Linked DNA regions of Homo sapiens: region 2 is linked to region 1. The links are contacts of gene promoters, found by promoter capture Hi-C in human tissues and cell types (Jung and others, 2019). All regions are on one chromosome and are shown on one strand. Each heading gives the region's core, a stretch centred on a gene start or on the middle of the fragment in contact. The rest is flanking DNA. Distances are from core to core; before and after follow the strand shown. Region 1 holds the start of WIPF3 (WAS/WASL interacting protein family member 3). Region 2 overlaps SCRN1 (secernin 1).

The links. The method cuts DNA at HindIII sites, captures the fragments that hold promoters and counts their contacts. A contact is called where the count stands out against the background at its distance.
Region 2: a fragment that was not itself captured here is called in contact with the fragment with the promoter of WIPF3 in region 1 in 2 of the 25 tissues and cell types used here (adrenal gland and liver).

The regions. Positions count from the first base shown.
Region 1 is chr7:29,804,783-29,810,944 of GRCh38, reverse strand. WIPF3 (WAS/WASL interacting protein family member 3) reads right to left here and starts at 4,437. Exons shown (of 9, transcript NM_001080529.3): 1 at 4,267-4,437. RefSeq lists an enhancer at 3,792-4,701. The HindIII fragment of the contact is 12,406 bases long and covers 1-5,956 here.
Region 2 is chr7:29,922,370-29,928,236 of GRCh38, reverse strand. It overlaps SCRN1 (secernin 1), which reads left to right. Exons shown (of 8, transcript NM_014766.5): 7 at 1,605-1,785; 8 at 4,122-5,867. The coding sequence ends at 4,280. Among named protein-coding and RNA genes, the nearest start is that of FKBP14-AS1, 63 kb to the left of the region's middle. The HindIII fragment of the contact is 5,344 bases long and covers 227-5,570 here.

The DNA of each region.
Region 1 (6,162 bases), core at 3,188-5,687:
TGCACTCCAGCTTGGGCAACAGAGCAAGACCCTATCAAAAAACAAAAAAACAGAATAAATCTATCTTATTAGCCTTAAACATGAGATAAATACTATTATTATCCTCATTTTCTAGATGAGAAAACCAAAACACAGAGAGGTTAAGTAATTTGTCCAAGATCATACAGCAAATAAATGATGCATGTAAGATTCATGCAAAATAGTCCAGGGATTCTGACTTACATAAGTTATACAAAAGAATAAATAATTTCTTAAAGAAGCAGAGGCTTTTTGATTTTATAGGCTGAGCCCTAAAGGAGATAACTATTGGAAATCTCATCCATACAGTTATGCCTGATGGAGCCATATTAACAAAAGGGAATGAGACAGTGAAAGTTAAAACAACAGATAAAACACAACAAATAATTGTCTTTTGATCTTGGAACATACTTCCAGATATTCATTCATTCATTCATTCATTCATTCATTCACTCACACAATTACTGATTCCTCCACTTACACAGTCCTTTAATTCATTCAACAACCTTTAGGGAGTACCCCTCACTTGCCAGGCATGGGGCAGGTGCTATGCTGGGAATGGAGATGAACACAGTTCCTGCCTTCCAGGAGCTCAGGTGCAATAAGAGAGAGTCAGGTAGGTTGGGGACACCTTGGGGTTATGAGTGGGTTGATAAAAGACCACAGCAGGGTGCAACATGATCATTCTGAGAGTAAGTCAGCCTTCGGCTTCTGTCTCCCCTTTGATAAAGGAGTATGAAGAATCAGCTCCCTATAGGGCTGCTGTAGTGATGTCCTACATATAAAGCTCTTAGCCTAGCCCCGGGCAGGGCTAGCTAGTCATTAGCTCTTAAGGAACAGTGGATGGCAACCTGGGCACCTTGCTCAGACACACATGTGCACTCACACAGACACACGTCCTCAGAAACTCAAGCACTGAGACTGGCTACTGCCTCCTCCTAGCTAACCAAGAGCTGACTCTCACAGTCCATGTGCAGGCCTGGCACTCTCTCCTGGATGCCACCATCCTAGATGCGGTGTTAGCTGGAAAACACCACCCACATAGGATGAACATTCCTTCAAGATGCACTTGAAAATCTTCCTCCACAGTGCCTGGCCCACATAATGCCCGCTGGGCATTTTTGTCACGTTTACTCTGCTTTAGTTTACCTCCTTGGCACTTGAACACCGCAGTTCACTACACAATTCCCCTGCTGCATAATGGTCGGGTTCCCTCTTGAACAGGTCTAAGGAAAGACGCAGCTAGAATTGCAAAAGGGGAGTTTCAAGTGCCCTACTGGCTGAAGCCAGTGAGAAAACACGTGTGCTGCCCCTGCCCAGCATCGGCTGGGGAAAGGCATGCCTCTTCGGTTTTGTACAGTGGCTAAATAAAAAGCAATTAATCACTTTCTCACCAACCCTAACTCATATTTAATAGTTCCCCTCGAAGTTTGTTTTGTCATGCTGTCGGCAAAGTCAGTCAAACATTACGATTCTTTTCTAAATATTCCAGCAGCCAGATGGCAGAAGCACCACTGTGACAAGGCAAACTTGCCTAAAGATAACTTTGTGATGCAGAACCATGCTCGATGGCACTGGGCTGAGGGGACTCACCCAGAGCTATTTCTAAATTGCTCCCCTTAACCCACGTTCTTTACACCAAAACTTCCTAAGACAAACATTCAACTCTGCAACTTGAAACTGGTGGTAAAACAAAGACGTTTCTACCTCTTTAAGTTCGGAATATTAGGCAGAAAAATAAAATCACTAGAAGACCACACATCAGGACAAAGTTCTCAGGATTTCTCCGTAGATTTAAGGCTACTGTACCCTAATGTTTCAAATATTTCTGCACCAAAGTTCATATATATTAAATATTTATAACACATTTGCTAGAAAACACATTTCCTTCCTTTTGCTGAGTTATTTGTGTAGGTTTCTTTTTTAAAAACTTCAACATTAATAAACATATTTATAAATTCTAGAATGTAAAAAAGTTGACTGCCATCCTGGTGAAAATTCTATGTTTCCCTCTACTGTTAATCACATTTTGTTTTCTCGGATCTTTCCTAGGTTATATTCTTTATTCTTTGTGTATGTGTTGGAGTGACTGCAAACTCGCAACCTGTACTATATGGTTTCTGAACAATAAGTCTCCTAAAAAGAGCGTTGCCAGGCTAGACCAGCTGGCTTTCCCCTGTTCTTATAACTGTATGTTCTTAGACACACACACACACACACACACACACACACACACTTCCTCCATTCCTTCTGCTGCTGGGTAACTGCAATCTGTGACACAATGTCACACTCACAATTACGTGAAAACAGAGACTCCTAAAGGAACAAAAAGGGGGCAATGGCAGGAAGCCAGCCTACAAGTGTCTGTCACCCTGACCGCTCTGCCCCGATTCAGGTGGCCACAAATTGCCTGTTGAAGGTTGCCTGTCTAGAATTTGAAGTCTGTGTGCCCAGGCTGTTACCCTGAGTAAGTAATTTAACCTCTGTGACCTTTTATTTTCTCATCTGTAAAAAAGGCACAATAACAATATCTCTGTTAAAGAATTGCTGCGAATCACAGGAGGTGATGCACATAAAGGCATCTGCAGTGTATGTTTCATTTCCAGTTACTTCTTAACTTTCTTTTGCCCCTCCTCGCCACTTCTTTTCTGATTTGGTTTTTGTGGTTTTTAAATGTATCTTTGAAATGCATTAGCTGGAAAACTGCAGCAATCTGTGTGTTACCACAATGAGTGGACTTTAGCATCACATTTTTATTTACTTTTTCACTGAGGTAGAATTTACGTTAAGTGCACAAGTCTCAAGGGTATAACTTCAGTAATTCTTAGGTCAAGGTGAGAAGCATTTCTAGCATCCCAGAAGCCTCCCTCATGTCCTGTCCAGGTATTGACCTGGAGTTTATCTCCTTGCAAGGCCCAAAAACAACCTCTCCTCTGACCTCTTTCGTAATGATAAAGTTAAAAAAAATTGAAGGGAGGCAGGAGTCCCAGTGATAACTATTAATGCTGGGCACAAGAAGTGCACTCCCAGTCCTCCCTGTGAAGTGAGAAAAGATTCTGGAAAGGAGGAGGCGGAGGGGCACAAACCTTCTAAATCACACTGGTCATGCCAAACAAGGCCCTCATTTACAGCCAAGGACCCCAGGCACAGAGGCGAAGAGACAGCCTAACTTCCTGCTACAGAGTAACTTTCCTCCCCAATACAGCCAGTTACAAAGCGCCCTGAGTGTCAGGGATTGGCCACACTGTCCCAGGGCGCATGGAACCGCTCTCCTGGCCTTTCCCTGCAGAAACTTCTTTCCAGAGGGAGGCGCACACACGGTCCCCACGCCGCCCCGGCGCCCGCCACGGGCACACCCACGCGGCTGGCACGCCACCCTCCAAAGGCGCTGTTCCTGAGAGCCGGTGCCTGCCTGCCCACGGGGCCCGGGCGGCGCTCCTCCAGGTCCAGGGCGGCCGGGTGCCCGCCCTCCCCGCCACCTTCAGAGAGTGCGTGTCAGGGGCTGGGGGAAATCTGCTCTGCCACCTACCTACCCACCACCTAATCCTCCAAAGGACCCTAAACCCATTTGTGGCCAAATGTACATTGCTGGAGCACAGTCTGACTACTGACCCCAGGGGCTTGGAGATGAGCACGGGAGGGGTGTCCAGAGACCTGCGCTCTGTCCCCATGAGCTGTGTGACCTTGGACAAGTCACTTCACATCTCTGGAGTTGGCTTCCTCACTAGGGGGCTCCTTCTGTATTCCCCAAGCCACCTCCGGCTCTGCAATTTCCTAGCTCTCTTTTACTCCGCCCCAGCCCTTCCCGCGACAGCCCCCTCCCCAGCGAGACCCCAGCCTTTTGTTCCGGGGGCGAAGCGGAGAAGAGAGAGCGTCGCGAAGGACCAGGCCGAGGCGGCCTCGGTGCCAGGGGCTGCTCACCGGGGAGTCCAGTCCGGAGAAGTCACCAAGCAACCCCGTGGTGACCTCGCTCCCCACCCCGCGGTTTGTTTCCGCCCGGCCCGGCCCGGCCCGGCCGGGGCGGCGTGGCAGGGTGCGGGTGGGGGGCGTGAGCGCCGCGCGGCACGTCGACAACCTCCTGGGCCCGGGGCTGCAGCCCGGCGGGGGTTCCCCGGCCCTCCCACGCCCTCAGGATCTCTGTCCCGGGCCGGGCCACTCTGCTCCGGGACCGACCAGGGCGGCGGCCGCCACACCGCCCGTTCCTTCCACCCTCGGGCACCGACCCGCACCCGCGCGGGAAGCCGCTACCTGCAGGTGGCGGAGCCGGGGGCTGGACTGGACTCGAGCTCCGGCCGACGTCTCCGCCGCCGCCGCCTCCGGCTCCGGGCTCCGTCCCGCAGCGCCCGTGCTCCAAGCGGCGCCGCTACCGCCGAGCTGCGCTCGGTGCGCCCGGCTCGCTCCCCGGCCACCGGCTCTGGTGCTGCCGGGACGCGGAGGCGGGGCCGCCGCCCCCACCTGCTCGCAGGCTCCTGCCTGGGAGCCGCCGCCGCCCCGCGGCAGGGACACGGCCCCGGCGGGCGGGGTCGCTCTGGGACCCTGGAGGCGGGTCCCAAGTCGGCGGGCGCGCCTCCCGGGTACAGAGTCCCAAGTCTCAGCTGCGGAGAGACTGAGGCCTAAGGCTGGAATTCCCCAAATAGGAGCTGTTGCGCGGGCGGCACACGGCCCAGCACAGCTACTCTGGGGACACGCCACTCCTTGAATTTATTCCAAAATGTTGAGCCCTTACTAAGCTCCAGGCGGTGTCATAAGCGATGGGGACGAGAGAACAAGATTACCTCTTGCCCTCGTGGAGTTCACAGTCTAGAAAAGGAAAGCGACCAATGGGCGATTACAGCACAACCAAGAGGAGGCAGAGGCCTCCTGAGCCGGCTCCCAGAGGGAGCACCTGATCTAAACTTGGGGTGGGGAGTAGGTCAGGGAGGGCTTCTTGAGGAGCTGACGTCGACGAGAAAAACTGAAGACTGAGTGTGAATTAGCCAGGTGATGAGAGAATTATCCGGGTAGCCTGGGGAGGTAGATTGATGTCCCAGGTAGAGTCGAAGGGAGGAGAAAGCAGACTGAAAACTGAAATAGGGCCGGGCGCGGTGGCTCAAGCCTGGAATCCAAGGACTTTGGGAGGCCGAGGTGGACGGATCACTTGAGGTCAGGAGTTACTAGCCTGGCCAACATGGTGAAGCCCTGTCTCTACCAAAAAATACAAAAGTTAGCCGGGTGTGGTGGCGCTCTCTAGTCCTAGCTACTCGGGAGGCTGAGGTGGAAGGATCTCTTGAACCCAGGAGGCAAAAGTTGCAATGAACCACTGCACTCCAGCCTGGGCGATAGAGTGAGACCCTGTCTCAAAAAACCAAACCAAACCAAACAAAGAAACAAACAAAAACAAACCTGAAATAAGCTTGAAGAACGGAAAACCTTGCTTCTGTCACATTTCTTGTTCAGGCCCTTGGAGGATGCAGAAAGTTTGTGTCCGAGGCTGAATGCATTGCTGTAGGTGCTGAGATCATTGGGTGAGGATTCTGTATTGCCCATGTCCTGGGCATTCCTGCTAGTGGAGGAGCTAAGCGGGTACTCGTGGACTGTTCACTCAGCCTCGGTGTTTGAGTATCTGCCATGAGCCAGACACTCTGCAGGGCCTCAGGGCAAGGTGTCTAACTCTAAAGTTGCTGCTGGTCTGGAATAGAGGAGAAACCTGGCGCTCAGCGCTGTGCTGAGGCTTGTGTGAAATGTTGGGGACCCAGGTGAGGGAGCAGCCAATGCCAGCAGGGAAGATCTCACACGTGGATTGCAGCCTGTATTCAGGTTCAAGTTCTGTAGTGGCTGCTGTCAAAGTATGTTCCCCAAGCAGCCCTTAGCTGATCTCTTAATTACTCATGTTTGTAGCTGGGCAATGTGTCGAAAGCAAGGATTAATAATACACTTTTGATGTCTTTCACTCCAGTGTCGTCAAGAACATGGTTTTCTCTTTTGATTTAGGTGACGAAAGGTCTATGTGTAGTGAGTGGAAGCTGATGAGGCACTTGCTTTCCACCTGTTTGTCCTGAGTTCCTCTTGCCCTTTCCTCCTTTAGAATCATAATAGATGACCACAGGTATGGAACCTGAAGAACAGTTCTCCAACATAAAATTCATAAGCCCTCTTACATGGGTG
Region 2 (5,867 bases), core at 1,649-4,148, 120 kb before region 1:
ACTGTTGCTGCAAGTCCGAGGACAAAATTGGCTGGCAAGGGTTATTGGCTCCCAGTCCTTTTCAGGTCATGGCATACCTGAAAATAGTTTTTCTTTGTCTGTTTGTTTGTTTTTGAGACAAAGTCTCGCTCAGTCACCCAGGCCGGAGTGCGATGGCATGATCTTGGCTCACTGCAACCTCTGCCTCCTGGGTTCCAGCGACTCTTCCACCTCAACCTCCTGAGTAGCTGGGATTACAGGAGCACTCCACCACATCCGGCTAATTTTTTTTTATTTTTAGTAGAAACGGGGTTTTACCATGTTGGCCAGGCTGGGCTCGAACTCCTGACCTCAAGTGATCCACCTGCCCCAGCCTCCCAAAATGCTGGGATTACAGGTGTGAGCCACCATACCTTGCCCATACCTGAAAATATTCATACCTGTGTGCCATACTGGCAAGGCTGCCCTGGCTTCCTCAAGCTCCAGATGCCCCAGGGCTGAGGGAATCAACATCCTAGCTCACCTCTAGCCCACTTGAGGTACCCGAGGTGGGCCACAGTGCACCTGTTGAGAGGAGAAAAAAATGTCCAAATCTGACAAATCTGACCTATACATATGGGGCACATATGGGGAGTTCCTTCTCTCCTGCTGTTATTGCAGGTGCTGCCCCATGGTACAGCTGAAAACAGGCAATCCTTGGGACGCAGAGGTGCCCATGCCTGCCAGGAGCAGCCCTCTGATCCAGCAGTGTTTCCTCTGGATGTGGGGAGGGTAGGATAAGGCTCTCTCCCCGGCGTTACAGTTGGCCATAGTGGTCCCTTAGCCCGTTGGCCTGGGATCCCAGGCCACAGCTGTTTATATGCGTGGCTCTTGTGTGTGTGTGTGTGTGTGGGTGGGTGGGTGGGGGGGTGATGTATCCTAGACTTGTACAAGTACACACACATGCAGGCATACGCACAGCCATTTTCCCGAAGATAACATCCATCCTGCCGAGAGAACTGAATTGAAGAGAGCTGGGGGGCATTAGCTACCTGCTGTGCCCTGTGCTAGCTCTCTCACACAACCAGACTTCTGTGTGGTGTGCACCCTCCAAGGCCTCTTCTGTCATCTTTCTTACTCTGTCCCCTCCTTGGGTCTGTCAGAGATATTCCATAGATTTTTCAGTAAGGTAGAACCTCAGAAAAAAACTAAAAACAAACCCAAACCAAAAGGCCCTTCCTTTCCCAAAGGCTGCTTCTCAGACCACGGTATTAAAAAAAAAAAAGGCAAACCTCTCTCGCTCAGCTAGATGGCTCCTTGCACCGTTTCTCAGAACACTGTTTGTTTGCCTCACTTTTTATTGCTAAAAGAGTCCTCTCAAATGGTTCAGAACAAAGGAAGTCTGTTTTGATGTCTCTTTGCTGTAAGTAGAGGAATTTGCAGCTTGTAAATGGCTGCAGTTTTGCTAAAATAGCGACTAAAACATGCAGTTATGTCTCTCTTGGCACTCACCCACCCACCCGTCACCCACACCCACCACCCACCATAAGTTGGCTTGGGAAATGTTTGCTGAATAAAAGGACAGTCTCTGGGTGTTCCCGGGTCCCAGCCTCTGCCTGGCTGAAGTGCCTCTCCTTCCTCTCCAGGTCCATATTCAAGCCTTTCATCTTTGTTGATGACGTAAAACTTGTCCCCAAAACACAGTCTCCCTGTTTTGGGGATGACGACCCTGCCAAAAAGGAGCCTCGGTTCCAGGAGAAACCAGACCGCCGGCATGAGCTGTACAAAGCCCACGAGTGGGCACGTGCCATCATCGAAAGTGACCAGGTGAGCTTGCATGAGGGCCACAGAGGCGGAGGCGGAGGCGGGCGGGCGAGGTCAGCGAGGAAGGAGGCAGGGAAGCAGATGTCAAGCTAGACCCTACCCCCACCCATCCAGTGTGACCGGGCTTCTCCCAGAGACCAGGTTCCTGGGGCCTTTCCTAGAAGGCTGGTGTCCATTTTCCTGCCCAGGCTCTTGAAACCAAATAAGACAAAGCTTCTGCTTCTCATGTTATTTTGGAATTCAGCAGGCTGAGTATCTTACTTACATTTACTGTTTACGTAGGAATAATAGGAATATGCAGTACGTTAGGGATAACTGTTATATATTGTGTAAAATTCCTTATGTACTTTTGGGGGTAAAAAGTTGTTATTTGCTGGCAACATTTTATTAAAGATACAATCATATGTTGTTTCAAAAAAGTTCTGGAGTTGGCTGGTGGTGCTGGTTGCACAACATTGTGAATGAGCTTAATGCACTGAACTATACATTTTAAAGTTTTTAAATGGTCAATCTTATGTTATAATACATATGTTTTACCATAGTACAAACATAGTTTTAGAAAATATTCTCATATTCCTAGGGTTTTTTTTTTTTTTTTTTGTATTTTTAGTAGAGACGGGGTTTCACCCTGTTGGCCAGGCTGGTCTTGAACTCCTGAGCTCAAGCAATCCACCTGCTTCTGCCTCCCAAAGTGCTGGGATTACAAGCAGGAGCCACCGCGCCCAGACTCATATTCCTAGTTTTAAAAAAGAAGTCGTAATCCTTCAAAGTGCAGCTCTCCCCAGTCCCACACCTTTGGTTAATAAAGTGATAAGTCATCAATTCAAACAAGAAAACCACCCAAAGCACGTTCCACAGCACCCAGTGTGTCCACAGCAGCCACCCCGATGGACTTTATATAAATTCAAGCCTATATTTTGCTGAAGAGAGGAAGAAGGAACGTGCTTGTTAGACACTCATCAGTTTTCCCCAACTATTTATGTAACAACTTTTAATAGGTCCAAACTGGCCTGAAGGGCCCAAAAGGGGGACCTTTTGTGTAAATTGGTGCTGTGGACTGTGTGAGCCTCTTGCATTTGACATGGTGGACTATAGAAAAAGGATATCAAGAGAAAAATCCAAGCAATAAATCCAGATGAATTCAGAAAGCATCTCTGAGAAGGGCTGTCTCACTTTTCTGAGAGCTTGCCCTTCTCTTCCATAGAAGTGACCATTTGACACGTAAAGGTCGCACAGTTATTTTACATCTCTCCTCCCTGCCAGCCTAAAAAGGCTGGCAGATAATCGGAAGCATGCATGCTGCCACTGCATTCAACTGTGTTTTCTCCAGGGCTGTCCACATTAGTTCCTGATAGTGCTTATGTTCTTGGTGGATGACCATAAGCCCCAAGTAGATGAAAACTGTCGCTGTGTGGTGTATGGTGTTTTGGGTATTTGGTTCATTAGAATGAAGAGGTAGAAAGGGCTGTGTGTTCAAGATGAGGCTGCTGAGGCTGGTGGGTTTTGAAATTTACAAATGACTCTCAGGTGGAGTCACATGATGCTGCATGAAGCAGTGGTGGGCGGGTGGTGAGAGCAGCTTCTCAGTTCTGGGACTCATGGGGCAAATGAAAGCTTTCACTGTCATCTGCCATAAATGAGTGAGTCCCATGGAAGAAGTGAACTCACCATCTCAGAAAAAGAGTGAACAGGGGAGAGACATGGCACCTGTTTATTCATTGATCCATTTTTTTTTTCATTCAATGAACATTTTTTGAGAGTGCCCTCCCAGTCACTGGAGGATAGAAATGAGCCCAGTTCCCATCCAAGGGGCCACAGCTGCAGAGGCAAGCCAGCACAAGGTGGGAGACAGCGCCCATGGCAGGGGGAACGGTGTGGCACTGTGCGGGGAAGAGGAAAGGCTTTGCAAGGAAGCTGAAGATGGGTGCACGTCGACCAAGCGCTGAGAAAGGGGATGGCCCTCCAGAGGGCAGGGCCACCTGTGCAGGGGCGAGACAGCAGCAGAGGCTGGAGGGCTACAGTGAATTCAGTCCAGCTGAGGAGTGGGGAGATGCAGGGGAAGTGGTCTTGGATGTCAGAAGGGCCTTCCCTCAGTGTCACTCTGGGGTCTGGGCTTTGTCCTGAAGGCAGCAGAAAGCTGTGCAGGTGTTCTAAGCCGGGCAGTGACATAATCATACTGGCATTCTAGAACAATCCCTGCGGCAGTCGTGTGTGAAACGGAGTGTGGGGAGGACAGGACCTTGAGCAGGAAGCCAGCTGGCCCCCTAGAGGGTTTCAGTGTCCGCTGCAATGTCCCCTGCTATTTTGCTGACACCTAAAGCAGTCGTGTCCTTCCTCAGGAGCAAGGTCGCAAGCTGAGGAGCACCATGCTGGAGCTGGAGAAGCAAGGCCTGGAAGCCATGGAAGAAATCCTGACCAGCTCCGAGCCACTGGACCCTGCGGAAGTGGGGGACCTTTTCTATGACTGTGTTGACACGGAGATTAAGTTCTTTAAGTGAAGTAAGCGTTCCCTTTCCCCTTCTTATTTAAGACTTCCCACCTTACTAAATTACCAGCAAAACAAACCACTCTCCTGTTTGAGTAAAATGAGAAAGTTAATATGTGGCCTCCTTTTCTGAAGCCAGATCAAACTGTTACCTTGTGTTCCACCTTGAATCTCACAGCGTCCCCTTCTGCAATGTAGGTCTCCTTCCTGTGCAGTGTAACATGTATCCCGTTGCCTGTTGTTCGGTTGTGTGACTAATTGTGGATTTTAAGCTGCTATTATTGTATTTCAGTGGCAATGGACACATTAGCCTTTTACAAGAGGACTAGAGTTCATCAAGCCTTGAAAGGCAGGCTTCACAGTGCCGAGTTGGCGGGAAAAGCAAATTCTTTTGAAGTCTTAGTCTTTCCCTCAGTAGCGGTTTCTTTCAGGTTAACAAGAGGCATTTGTGCACACACACAGGGCTCTTGTGTGTGTTGTCAAGGGGACCCTCCGTGGCCTCCCGTGAGTGCATGCCTGTAGTGCACAGTGTCTCTACAGGTGTCTTCTGGGGGGCAGAACCAATTGGAAGGAAGAAAGGGACCCCTCTCCAGTCCTGGCTCCTTCCTACATCCTGGGCTCCTGAAGAAGCTGTCTTCCCATTTTCCATGCGCTGTGCTTATGTGTGGTGGACTGCAGAGCTGCTTCCACTTACAGGAGAGCTGATAATTTGTTAGCTGGAACCTATTCACTTCCGAGATTCAGACATAGCCATGCTGGTGGCCTTCTGAATCACTGCATGGATGTCCCAGGAGGCAGCTCTCCCCACACAGCAGCACAGCCATCACAGGATTCCTTGTGTAGAAATGATTCCCAGTCTAGTTACCAACAGCTAGTCTAGGAGTAATTGAATGGCCCTATGGCACAGTTCCACCCACAGAGTAGTGAATCTCTCAGCCAAGGAGGGAAAGAAAAGGAAGAACTCTTGACTATTTAGATTCTAGTTAAATATCTGGAATCCTAGCAGTCACTACATTATCTCAGCAGAGAGACTTTAATTAAACTGATTTGTTTCCAATGTCGGGTTCACTTAAAGGATTTGACTTACCACCAGAGCATAGAAAAGCATGCAAGGAAGACCAGATGGGCTTAGCATTGGGAAGACAGAGGGCAAGGAGGTGATAGATGGATATAGAAGCATTTCTCTGCAGGATACCAGTTCAGGCCCCACCATTCCTGCCAAGGCCATTACATCCCACAAACCCAAATACAAAGCAGCTGACTTCCCTGGATCTTCCCCCCACTCCTCACACCTCACATGTCCCAGGAGCTGCCTTCATTCAGGCGGGTAGCTGCACTGGGCATGGGGTGGTGGTGGGAGCTTACCGCCACCTATTCAAGCTCTCAGCTACTCCTGAAACGGGCAGAGATGATGAACAGAAGTGTATGTAAATACAGCAGCTAGTGGGAGAGCACCAGTTGGGCCTAATCCTGCCTCATCATTCTTGGCAGGAATCTGCAAATGGAAACATTGTGAGTATCAGCAATCTGGGAAGTGACAGGGTTAATAACTCCTTCCCAGAAGCTGTATCATGAGATTTTGAGGGGACCGAGCCCTGTT